Linked DNA regions of Homo sapiens: all the other regions are linked to region 3. The links are contacts of gene promoters, found by promoter capture Hi-C in blood cells and fetal thymus (Javierre and others, 2016). All regions are on one chromosome and are shown on one strand. Each heading gives the region's core, a stretch centred on a gene start or on the middle of the fragment in contact. The rest is flanking DNA. Distances are from core to core; before and after follow the strand shown. Region 1 has its middle 40 kb from the start of MDM2. Region 2 overlaps MDM2 (MDM2 proto-oncogene). Region 3 holds the start of IL26 (interleukin 26).

Evidence for each region. The method cuts DNA at HindIII sites, captures the fragments that hold promoters and counts their contacts. A CHiCAGO score of 5 or more calls a contact.
Region 1: a contact is called between a fragment that was not itself captured here and the fragment with the promoter of IL26 in region 3, in 1 of 17 cell types (megakaryocytes). The highest score is 7.6, in megakaryocytes.
Region 2: a contact is called between a fragment that was not itself captured here and the fragment with the promoter of IL26 in region 3, in 1 of 17 cell types (megakaryocytes). The highest score is 5.1, in megakaryocytes.

What each region holds. Positions count from the first base shown.
Region 1 is chr12:68,845,889-68,849,669 of GRCh38, forward strand. It overlaps a transcript of MDM2 not described here and a transcript of CPM not described here. Among named protein-coding and RNA genes, the nearest start is that of MDM2, 40 kb to the left of the region's middle. The HindIII fragment of the contact is 1,942 bases long and covers 881-2,822 here.
Region 2 is chr12:68,825,788-68,829,730 of GRCh38, forward strand. MDM2 (MDM2 proto-oncogene) reads left to right here. Exons shown (of 11, transcript NM_002392.6): 8 at 2,984-3,144. Among named protein-coding and RNA genes, the nearest start is that of MDM2, 20 kb to the left of the region's middle. The HindIII fragment of the contact is 1,992 bases long and covers 571-2,562 here.
Region 3 is chr12:68,224,097-68,227,540 of GRCh38, forward strand. It overlaps IL26 (interleukin 26), which reads right to left and starts at 1,714. Exons shown (of 5, transcript NM_018402.2): 1 at 1,490-1,714; 2 at 1,348-1,404; 3 at 1,053-1,187. The coding sequence starts at 1,660. The HindIII fragment of the contact is 7,284 bases long and covers 130-3,444 here.

The sequences.
Region 1 (3,781 bases), core at 602-3,101, 620 kb after region 3:
AAGTAGCTGGGGACCACAGGTGCAAGCCACCAGGTCCAGCTAACCTTCCCCCCACCTCCCCCGACCCCGCTGCCACCCGCCCTGAGACAGAGTCTTGCTCTTTCACCCAGACTGGAGTGCAGTGGTGCAATCTCGGCTCATTGCAACCTCCACCTCCCAGGTTCAAGCAATTCTGCCTCAGCCTCCTGAGTAGCTGGAATTATAGGTGCTCGCCAACCACACCTGGCTAATTTTTTTTGTATTTTTAGTAGAGATGGGGTTTCAGCATGTTGTCCAGGCTGGTCTCGAACTCCTGACCTCATGATCCGCCCACCTCGGCCTCCCAAAGTACTGGGATTACAGGCGTGAGCCACCGTGCCCGGCCTAATTTTTGTATTTTTTGTAGAGACAGTTTCACCATGTTGCCCAGGCTGGTCTCAAACTCCTGGGGTCAAGTGATCTGCCCGTCTTGGCTTCCCAAAGTGCTGAGATTACAGGTGTAAGCCACCACGCCAAGCCCAAAATTTCACCTTTTAAATTTATTCCATTTATTTTGTAGGTGAATTTCATTTATTTCTCAGGGTTAAATTTTAGCGCTTTTGCCTGTGTCTATTTTTGGTTCACACCTCCCCAGCCCACTGTCCTGTATTAAGTAGGCCTTCCTTCAAGATCACAGTAATATCTCCCTAAATGGATTTCACTACGTTTGGTCCTATTTTTGGTTCAGTTATAGTTTACAGATACCATCATGTTGCTTCCCTGATTTAAATATTGGGGGAAAAACTTGCTTTTTGGATTTTATCTCTGATGTTCTACTGGATTATTTTAGACTTTTAGAACACTATGAAATGGGTGCTTGCTTTTCACTTTTCAAACCTTTTTTGCTTAAACAAAGTTCATAAGCTTATTGTAGTGGGAAGTTCAAAGTCACAGATCTGGTACTTACTCGCCTAGTGACCTTAGAGACAATAAATCTATAGAGCCTAGTATGGGGTCTGGCAGGTAGTAAGCACTTTTAATGAATGGAAGTTTAATATTCTGTTTGCATCCACTCGACCATAATCACCCCAAATCCAGCTTAGGTAGCCTTGAATTAACCCCTACTCCACCTTGAAGTTTTTTATTTGTTTTTTGCTGAGACAGGGTCTCATTCTGTCACCCAGGCTGGAGTATAGTGGCGCAAACATGACTCACTGCAGCCTCCTGAGTAGCTGGGAACACAGGCCTGTTGCCACCATGCCTGGCTAATATATATATTATATATAATATACATATATTACATATATATATATAATACATATGTGTTTATGTATGTATGTGTGTGTACATTATATATATATATATACTTTTTTTAGAGGCAGAGTCCTGCTATGTTGCCCAGGCTGGCCTTGAACTCCTGGGCTCAAGCAATCCTCGTGTCTTGACCTTGACCTCTCAAAATGCTGGGATTACAGGTGCGAGCCACTGCATCTGGTGAATTAAGCCTTTTTTATACACTCAACTCTGAGGTATTCTGTTCATACCAATATGTTCCTTTGTATCTTCTTGCCATAGCAGGTTGTAACATCCTTTTGTATCTCCTTTCTTTTTTTTTTTTTTTTTTTGAGACGGAGTCCCGCTGTTTAGCCCAGGCCGGATTGCAGTGGCGCAATCTCGGCTCACTGCAAGCTCCGCCTCCCAGGTTCACGCCATTCTCCTGCCTCAGCCTCCCGAGTAGCTGGGACTACAGGCGCCCGCCACCGCGCCTGGCTAATTTTTTGTATTTTTAGTAGAGACGGGGTTTCACCGTGTTAGCCAAGATGGTCTCGATCTCCTGACCTTGTGATCCGCCCGCCTCGGCCTCCCAAAGTGCTGGGATTACAGGCGTGAGCCACCGCGCCCAGCCGTATCTCCTTTCAAATGTCAAATAAATACATTGTGTATACAGTAGTAAAGGATGTTGATTGGCATTGAAAGCAACTATCAAGTTCTTGTTGATTTAGAAGACAAAAAGACAATTTTAAAATAACATCCTGGGCCAGGCTCTGTGACTCACGCCTGTAATCTCAACACTTTGGGAGGCCAAGGAAGGAGGATCACTTGAGGCCAGGAGTTTGAGATCAGCCTGGGCAACATAATGACACCCTGTATCCAAAAAATTGTGGTGGCATGCATGGGAGACTGAGGTGGGAGGATCACTTGAGCCCAGGAGTCCAATGTTACAATGAGCTATGATTGCGCCACTACACTCTGCTTAGGAGACAGATGGAGACTTGTCTCTTAAAAAAATAAAAAATAACAGTATGTTCATTAAACATTAATCTCACTGATTGTGATTTTTTGTTTGTTTTTTTGAGATGGCGTCTTGCTCTGTTGCCCAGGGTGGAGTGCAATGGCGTGATCTTGGCTCACTGCAGCCTCCACCTCCTGGGTTCAAGTGATTCTCCTGCTTTAGCCTCCCAAGTAGCTGTGTTATTTCAGCTAATTTTTTCATTTTTAGTGGAGATGGGGTTTTGCCATGTTGGCCAGGCTGGTCTCGAATTCCTGACCTCATGTGGTCCACCTGCCTCGGCCTCCCAAAGTGCTGGGATTACAGGCATTGAGCCACTGTGCCTGGCCTGATTATGATTTTTTAAAGTCCCCCCCCAAATTATTGTTTGTGCAATAAATGGCAAAAAAGAAGCATTCTAAGAAAAAAGTAGTCTTAAAAGTTGATATGGTGTCAGAATTGTAAGAGAGAGGGTCTTGGCTGAAAAGCCTTTTTAGAAAAAATTGCTCCCTACAAAAAAGGCCTTTTCTACCTTTTCTCACATTTGTTTCTTTTTATAGGAGGCATCTGAGAAGACCAAATCTCTTCAAAGTTAAGCTTTTTGTTTTTTTGGGGGGGACGAAGTCTCGTTCTGTCACCCAGGCTGGAGTGTAGTGGCATGATCTCGGCTCACTGCAACCTCTGCCTCCTGGGTTCAAGCAATTCTCCTGCCTCAGCCTCCCGAGTAGCTGGAAATTCAGGCGCCTGCCACCATGCCCAGCTAATTTTTGTATTTTTAATAGAGGCAGGGTTTCACTATATTGGCCAGGCTGGTCTCGAACTCCTGACCTCATGATCCGCCTGCCTCTGCCTCCCAAAGTGTTGGGATTACAGGCATGAGCCACCGCACCCAGCCCAAAGTTAAGCATTTTTTAACCACAAGGTGGGAGGTGGAAGTATCTCGTTGGAAGACTAAAGGTGTCCACTAACGGTAGACCCTTTTTTTTTTTTTTTTGAGATGGAGTTTCACTGTCGCCCAGACTAGACTGAAGTGGCGCGATCTCGGCTCACTGCAACCTCTGCCCCCCAGGTTCAAGTGATTCTCCTGCCTCAGCCTCTAGAGTAGCTAGGATTACAGGGGTCCACCACCACACCTGGCTAGTTTTTGTATTTTCAGTAGAGACGGGGTTTCACCATGTTGGCCAGGCTGGTCTCGAACTCCTGACCTCAGGTGACCCACCTGCTTTGGCCTCCCAAAGTGCTGGGATTACAGGTGTGAGCCACTGCGCCTGGCCGTTTTTTTTTTTGTTGTTGTTGTTGTTTGTTCGTTTGTTTGTTTTGAGACAGTCTCTCACTCCAGGTTGGAGTGCAGTGGCACTATCTCAGCTCACTGCAAACTCTGCCTCCCAAGGTCAAATGATTCTCCTGCCTCAGCCTCCCAGTAGTTGGAATTACAGGCGCATGCCACCATGCATGGCTAATTTTTTGTATTTTTAGTAGAGACGGGGTTTCACCATGCTAGCCTTGAACTCCTGACCTTGTGATCTGCCTGCCTCGGCCTCCCAAAGTGCTGGG
Region 2 (3,943 bases), core at 317-2,816, 600 kb after region 3:
GATCAGTGAAACAGAATAAATGAACCCAGACCAGAATCTCGTACATGCGGGCAGAAGACAGGAAGGGCAGAGGTGTCTAGGGCAGAGGTGGAACTAGAACAAATGGTAGTTACTTGGGGAAAAGGTGAAGTTAGATCTGTACCTTATGCCAAAATGAATTTCAAATGAGTTTAAAAGTTAAATGAAAAATAGAATACAACATATTTGAAAGATAGTCACTTTAAATTTGACTGTTAATATCTGTATTACATAAAAAGTCTTCCCAAATCAATAAGGAAAACATTAAAACTTCAAATAGCAAAAAGGGCAGACAGTTCACAAAAATTTCTCACAGTAAATACGAATGACTAATAAATATGGGGAGAGGGTGAATTTTGGTGATTTTTAGCTTTACAGATAGTAAAAAATGCCAAAAGGGTGTCCTTTTGATCTATCAAATTAGTAAAAATAAAATTTTTACTCATCCTTACTCATCAGTGCTAATAACTTGTGTATTAGCACTGATAAACTGTTGGTCTGTAAATTGGTAAAAGTGGGTAAAAATTGATTAAATTTTTCGGATTATAAAAAAGCTTAGATGGCCTGGTGCGGTGGCTCACACCTGTAATCCCAGCACTTTGGAAGGCCGAAGCGGGTGGATCTCTTGAGGTTAAGAGTTCGAGACCAACCTGGCCAACATGGTGAAACCCCATCTCTATTAAAAATACAAAAATTAGCCAGGTGTGGTGGCAGGCGCCTGTAATCCCAGCTACTTGGGAGGCTGAGGCAGGAGAATCGCTTGAACCTGGGATGTGGAGGTTGCAGTGAACCAAGGTCGCACCACTGCACTCCAGCCTGGGGTACAGAGTGAGACTCCCTCTTAAAAAAAAAAAAAAAAGAAAAGAAAAAAAAGTCTTAGAGTTCTTAACATTATCCTAGTAACTCCATTTCTAGTAATCTATCCTAAGGATGTAATAAAAAATTCAAAGATTTATATGTAGAGATACTAATTACAGCATTATTTATAATTGCAGCCCGGCCAAGATCACCTTTTTAAAAATAGGGAACACAAACATGATTAAGAACTCACGTGCAGAACTTGTGATCTCGATAAAACGTAAAAATCCCGGCCAGGTCCAGTGGCTCACGCCTGTAATCCCAGCACCTTGGGAGGCCGAGGAGGGAGGATCACGAGGTCAGGAGATTGAGACCATCCTGGCTAACACGGTGAAACCCCGTCTCTACTAAAAATACAAAAAAAATTAGCCGGGCACAGTGGTGGGCACCTGTAGTCCCAGCTATTCAGGAGGCTGAGGCAGGAGAATTGCTTGAACCCAGGAGGTGGAGGTTGCAGTGTGCCGAGATTGTGCCATTATACTCCAGCCTGGGGGACAAGAGTGAGACTTTGTCTCAAGAAAATGATAAAAAAAGTCCTTTCAGAAATCTGTGATACTATCTCATTTTAATTTTTGTCATTCTCATGGGTGAAAAATGATATCATTTCACTTTGCATTTCTTTGATCCCTAGGAGGTAAGAGTTTTTTTTTCTATTACTCAAGTACATGACTCAAGATTTTTCATATGTTTATTAGTCATTTGTATTTCTTCTGTGACTTGCTTTTTCCTGTTTCCTTAAAAGAAAATACAGTCTATCTTGATTTGGTAGGACTTTGTATAATATGTATACTATGGGTAATTTTTACTATATATGTTGCAGATATTATCTTCGAATTTGACCTTTGCCTTTTAACTTTTGTTTGGTATTTTATTTTGTCATGTAAACCTTGACATGGTCTAATCTTGATAGTCTTTTTATTGAGGACTTTGCAGTATTATGAAATACTTCTCCACCCCAGCATTATAAGAATATTTTGTTATAGGTACTTGAATGGTTTTGTTCTTTATATTTAGATCTTTAATCCACCTGGAATTCATTTTTATGTCTAGTATAAGGTAGTATTCTCATTTATGTCTAACGGATTTGTCTAACATTCTGACCCATTCAGAGATAATTTATTATTTAAAATGAAATGGAAACTTTTTACTGGTTTTGATTTCTGTTTAAAATATAGGGTACTGAAGAGCCGGGCTTAGTGGCTTAGGCCTGTAATCCCAGCACTTTGGGAGGCTGAGGCAGGAGGATCACTTAAGGCCAGGAGTTTGAGACCAGTGTGGCCAACATGGTGAAACCCTGTCTCTACCAAAAATACAAAAATTATCCAGGCATGGTGGTGTGCACCTTTAATCCCAGCTACTTGGAAGCTGAAGTCACAAGAATCACTTGAACCTGGGAGGCAGAGGTTGCAATGAGCTGAGAATGTACCACTGCACTCCAGCCTGGGTGGTCGAGTGTGACTCTGTCTCAAAAGAAAAAGTGTAGGGTACTGAAGAAATTGAAACATTAAGAATACCATATGAGTAAATTAAACACTTTGGCTCTTTTCGGAAAAAAACAGATGAGCTCTTATATTTTAAAGTTTGGTTTTGACAGAAAAAAATTCCTAGATTTTTTGGTTAATAAAAACTTTATTAGATAGATTAAATTGTGATGTATGGAGATAAAGTTCTGAAAGAAGAATAGAAAGCTTTTTAAAAATAGTATTCTCAGCCTAGGCAACATGGTGAAACCCTGTCTATGCAAAAAATACAAAATGGTGCATTCCTATGGTACCGTTCCTATGGTACCAGCTACTCGGGAGGCTGAGGTTGAGGTGGGAGGATCACTTGAGCCCATGAGGCAGAGGTTGCAGTGAGCCGAGATTGTGCCTCTGTACTCCAGCCTGGGTGACAGAGCAAGACCCTTTCTCAGACAATAAATAAATAAACAAATAAATAAATACACACAGATAGTGTTCTGCTGTAACAGTTGGACAGATTCAATAAAACAGTGTTAACTTTTGAACTAATTTTATTGAAACTAAGTTTCTGTACAAATAGGTACTCAAAACAGCTCAATTTTCTAAATCACAGTACAGCAATTTATTTTTTTTCCTTACATATCCAGAAGAAAATTCAGATGAATTATCTGGTGAACGACAAAGAAAACGCCACAAATCTGATAGTATTTCCCTTTCCTTTGATGAAAGCCTGGCTCTGTGTGTAATAAGGGAGATATGTTGTGAAAGAAGCAGTAGCAGTGAATCTACAGGGACGCCATCGAATCCGGTAATGTTCTCATTTTAAGTAAGGCAAGACTCTTACTGTTCAAAGTCTAGTCCTGGCAGTCCTAATAAGGATACGGATAGAATGTACATGTGTCTTACGAGATTGATAGAAAACACAGTGCTAAATTTTACTTTAAAATAAAACTACTATATTGATCTCCACCTTCAACCCAAGGTATTGTGAGAAATGTGGAAAATAGTGGAGTAACACCGGTATTGGTAAAATTAGTAGTAGTATTAGTAATTATCAATGTCACTGTATGTATTAGAGAATATTTGTGGACCACTGCACCAATAGTACAGTCAAATAAATTGGAGTATAGAGTTGTTTGAGAATTTGAGAGTTACACTTTTTAAAAAAGGAACAAAACCAAAAATTTGGTTCAGTTAAATATTTTAGCATTTTAAGGCAAATTTGACTATTTAGAGTAAAAATATATTTTATTACAGCCATCAGCAAAAAAGTCAGCATAGTCTGAACTTAACATTTGCCAAATAGGTCTAGACATCAGGTAAGTTCTATTTACTTATGCTGTAAAATACAGGTTTATACTGGGCTGGGTGCGGTGGCTCATGCCTGTAATCAGTACTTTCGGAGGCTGAGGCGGGTGGATCACCTGAGGTCAGGAGTTCAAGACCAGCATGGCCAACAAGATGAAACCATGTCTTTACTGAAAATACAAAAATTAGCCAGGCGTGGTGGCGCATGCTTGCAGTCCCAGCTACTTGGGGGCCTGAGGCAGGAGAATCGCTCGAACCCAGGAGTTGGAGGTTGCAGTGAGCTGAGATTGTGCCACTGC
Region 3 (3,444 bases), core at 464-2,963:
AGAGCTCCTTTCCAACTGGCTTCCCAAGGATTGCAATAAGGCTCCCAACCCAACCTTTGTACCATCTGCAAGCTACAACTGCAGGAGGCTGGAGAAAGCATACTTGGACCCCAACCAAGGGCACAGAAAAGCTTCAATATTCCCCACAGAGGCAACTCGACTAACATTGCACAGATTCTGGCTCAGTGTTTTTGTTTTGTTTTGTTTTGTTTTGTTTTGTTTTGTTTTGTTTTGTTTTCTGCACTGGTCTTTATTGCTGTGGAATTTTTCATAGAAATGTGATCACTTTTACCTTCTTAATTAATTCTCCACTGCTTGCTATGACAGTGACCATACTGAGGCATCAAATAATTTAGGTACCAAAGAAGGCATGTCTATCCCTTTTTAAGTTTTTTACTGAGATTATGCCTTAAAAGGGGCACAAATATTTTTTTAAAAACATAAGTAAATAAGAAAAAGGGCATCAGTTAGTTATTATTGTTATGGGAAAGAAGGAAGGAAGGAAAGAGAGAGAGAAAGAAAGAAAAGGAAGTAAAGAAAGAAGGAAGGAAGGAAAAGAAAGAAAGAGAGAGGGAGGGAAGGAGGGTGGAGGAAGAGAAAGGGGAGAGGGAGGGAGGGAGAGGGAAGGAAGGGAGGGAGGGAGGGAAGAAGGGAGAGAGGGAGAGAGGGAGGAAGGGAGAGAAAGAGAGACTTAGAATAGTGTTTGGCACAAAGTTGGTACTCAAGAAATATTAAATGGATGAATGGATTACTTGGGAATCACATAATGAGAGAATGATTTTAAAGTATTTATTTGAAAACCATGTCATGTTACTTTAGCTCTCTTCAGTGTGTTTTATGAGCCATTCTTTAAGAAATAATAAATAGCAGCATTCTGAGTAATGTACAGTTATTTAATGCTATTTCCCTGGTGATGACCTCTCCATTTGGACTACAAGCCAACAATTACAAAGCTCGTTTTACTCACCCTTTGGTGTGAGACAGATTCTTACATGCTGACTTCTAAACAGGTTTCTAGGATCAAATGCACAGTATTTGTTGTGTATACTTACACAGTGGCTCAATTTCTGCCTAAGGCTATGAAAGTCCTCCACAAAGCGTATTTTCTTGCAGCCTTGCAATTGCAGTTGACCAAAAACGTCTTCCATGAAGAAGGACAGAAGCTGTTCTTGAAATTGACAGTTTTTCTAAAAATAAGATACAAGAAATTGCATATGGTAAATTATGAATCGTTTTTTAATGTCCCCCGATCATTACTTAATTACTCTCTGAAAAAAATTTAAATGCAGGGGGAAATAAACATCAAATAAGTGGAAATGTAAAAAAGAAGAAGACTTTCTGACTTACCATAAACTGCTTTTTTGTTTTCTTTTTTAATAATCGTATATTTTTTATGCGGTCTTCCTACAATAATACAAAGAGAAATAAGTTGTATCCAAGATTGTAAATGTCCTTGAGGTCATGATTTTAAGCAGAGCCTAATACTTACTGGAATCGTTGCTTTGAGCCATGCTGCTTTGATATAGAGAGCGTCAACAGCTTGGGACAATGTTCCCCTTGGGTAACAACTTTTGGTGAAGGAAGATTGCTTGTGCTTGGCAATGGCAAGAGACAGAGTGACTAACAGCAACCCACACCTCAAAATGAAATTCACCAGCATTTCCCTTCACCCCACTCAGCGTGTGTCACTCACAGCAGCCCAAGAGATACTAATGCCGGTTAGATGAGAGGATAACCTACTTAATGTAGCCCTCAAAGCCACCAGTCCAATGAGGTGCTGTGAAAGATAATTTACAGTTTATATAGAGGAAGATCACTTTGGTTGTTCTATTTTTTTAAGAGCTTGCTTCATAGTCAAAAAACGCTGATCACACCATCAACTGACATTATTTAAAAGCTCAGCCTTACTGGTAAGATTGCGTTCTCATTTCCAAAAGAATTCAGAATTTCAGTTGCCTATCACAGCAGCTTGCATTATTTTAAAAGGCATGCCAATAAAAACAGGATGATTTCCAGGGGGCTGTGTCATAATTTTTTAAACCCCATGTGAAAAATCTCCTTTTCTAACCAGAATCCCAGAAAAAATTTAACAAGGGGGTAGAAATGGGCAGCCCCAGGAAATCTGCTCACGATTCAAATGGGTCTTGTGTTTATTGCTTGCCACATCCTTCACCCAGCTTCCCCCAGAGGCCATTATTCTGCAGATAGCAGCGAGAACATTTCCAGTGCAGAAACAGTAACTCCCCTTAACATATTCAAGATATGTTTGGAACTGGACCTGGGACTAAGGTCCACAATGTAATAAGTTCTCTGTCATCTCTGTCCAAATTTACCACTCAGACTTTCCTTATAACTCCCAACTTCCAGGAGAGTGCAAATTCCTTGAAGAAAGAGACCGTATATTTTCACCTTTGAATACAGCATCTACCATGGCACCTCATCTAAAGAAGTGCATCCATTATTAATTGAGTAAATACTTTTGTCACATCATGACGTGCTACCATAACTGCTTTATTTTTTAAATTTCTTCCATTCACACATTTTTATTAAAGACTTGCCTACACAAAAACCAGTGCTAGGTATGAGGGAGCCACCAAGGAGGATTCTCCATAAACTCCCATCCTCATTTCTGTCCCAGTTCTTCCTAGACAGTAAATATGGCTCATTCTGGGTAGCAGCCCCAATATAAGAAGAGGGCAGCCCAGAGTCATATTCTGAGAAGCAGAGATAGGTCACTAAAGCCTAGAATGAATAGAGTTAATGTGTATCAGGGATAAGTCAACACTAGAAATCTGGTTGTGAGTTAAGAGAGTCATCAAAACTAGTCAGTCAATAACAAGCATCAGAACCCAAGACTAAATTCCAAATGAAAGCAAGCAGGGCTGTCAAAAAAACAAAAAAAAAACAAAAAAAAAACAAAAAAAAAACAACCAAGAAGAAAAAGGGAAAATAAGAAAAATGCTTGGACTGATGTCTGCTGTTTCAAAACATGAGTGGATCTCTTGGAAGAATCCAAGCCTTATTTCCCCAGGAGCAAGATCACTGGTAACGACACACCCTATCAATTGAGATGAGAACTATTCACAAAAAAACTATAGCAGAAGTCAGCTGACTGGGAGTGCTGAGTGAAGTTCACTGAAATTTTATGAAATTCAGAAAAAGAAAGAAGTCGTTTCAGTTGGGAGTGGCTGAAAGGATGTTTGAACTAGGACATGAAATACACAAAGGGATTTATTTATTTATTTATTTATTTATTTGAGCAGAGGAATGCCTAGTATTATAAGTTCCTTTGGAAAGAAACAGTGTGAACTTGGAGGGATCAAAAGCTCAAATGCCCTTAGAGGGCGAGGATTAATACAAACACACTGGGTGGGTAGATACCAGATAATTGCGGCTAATATGCTTATATGGTCACCAGTCTTAAAGTCTGTCTAATCACATAGC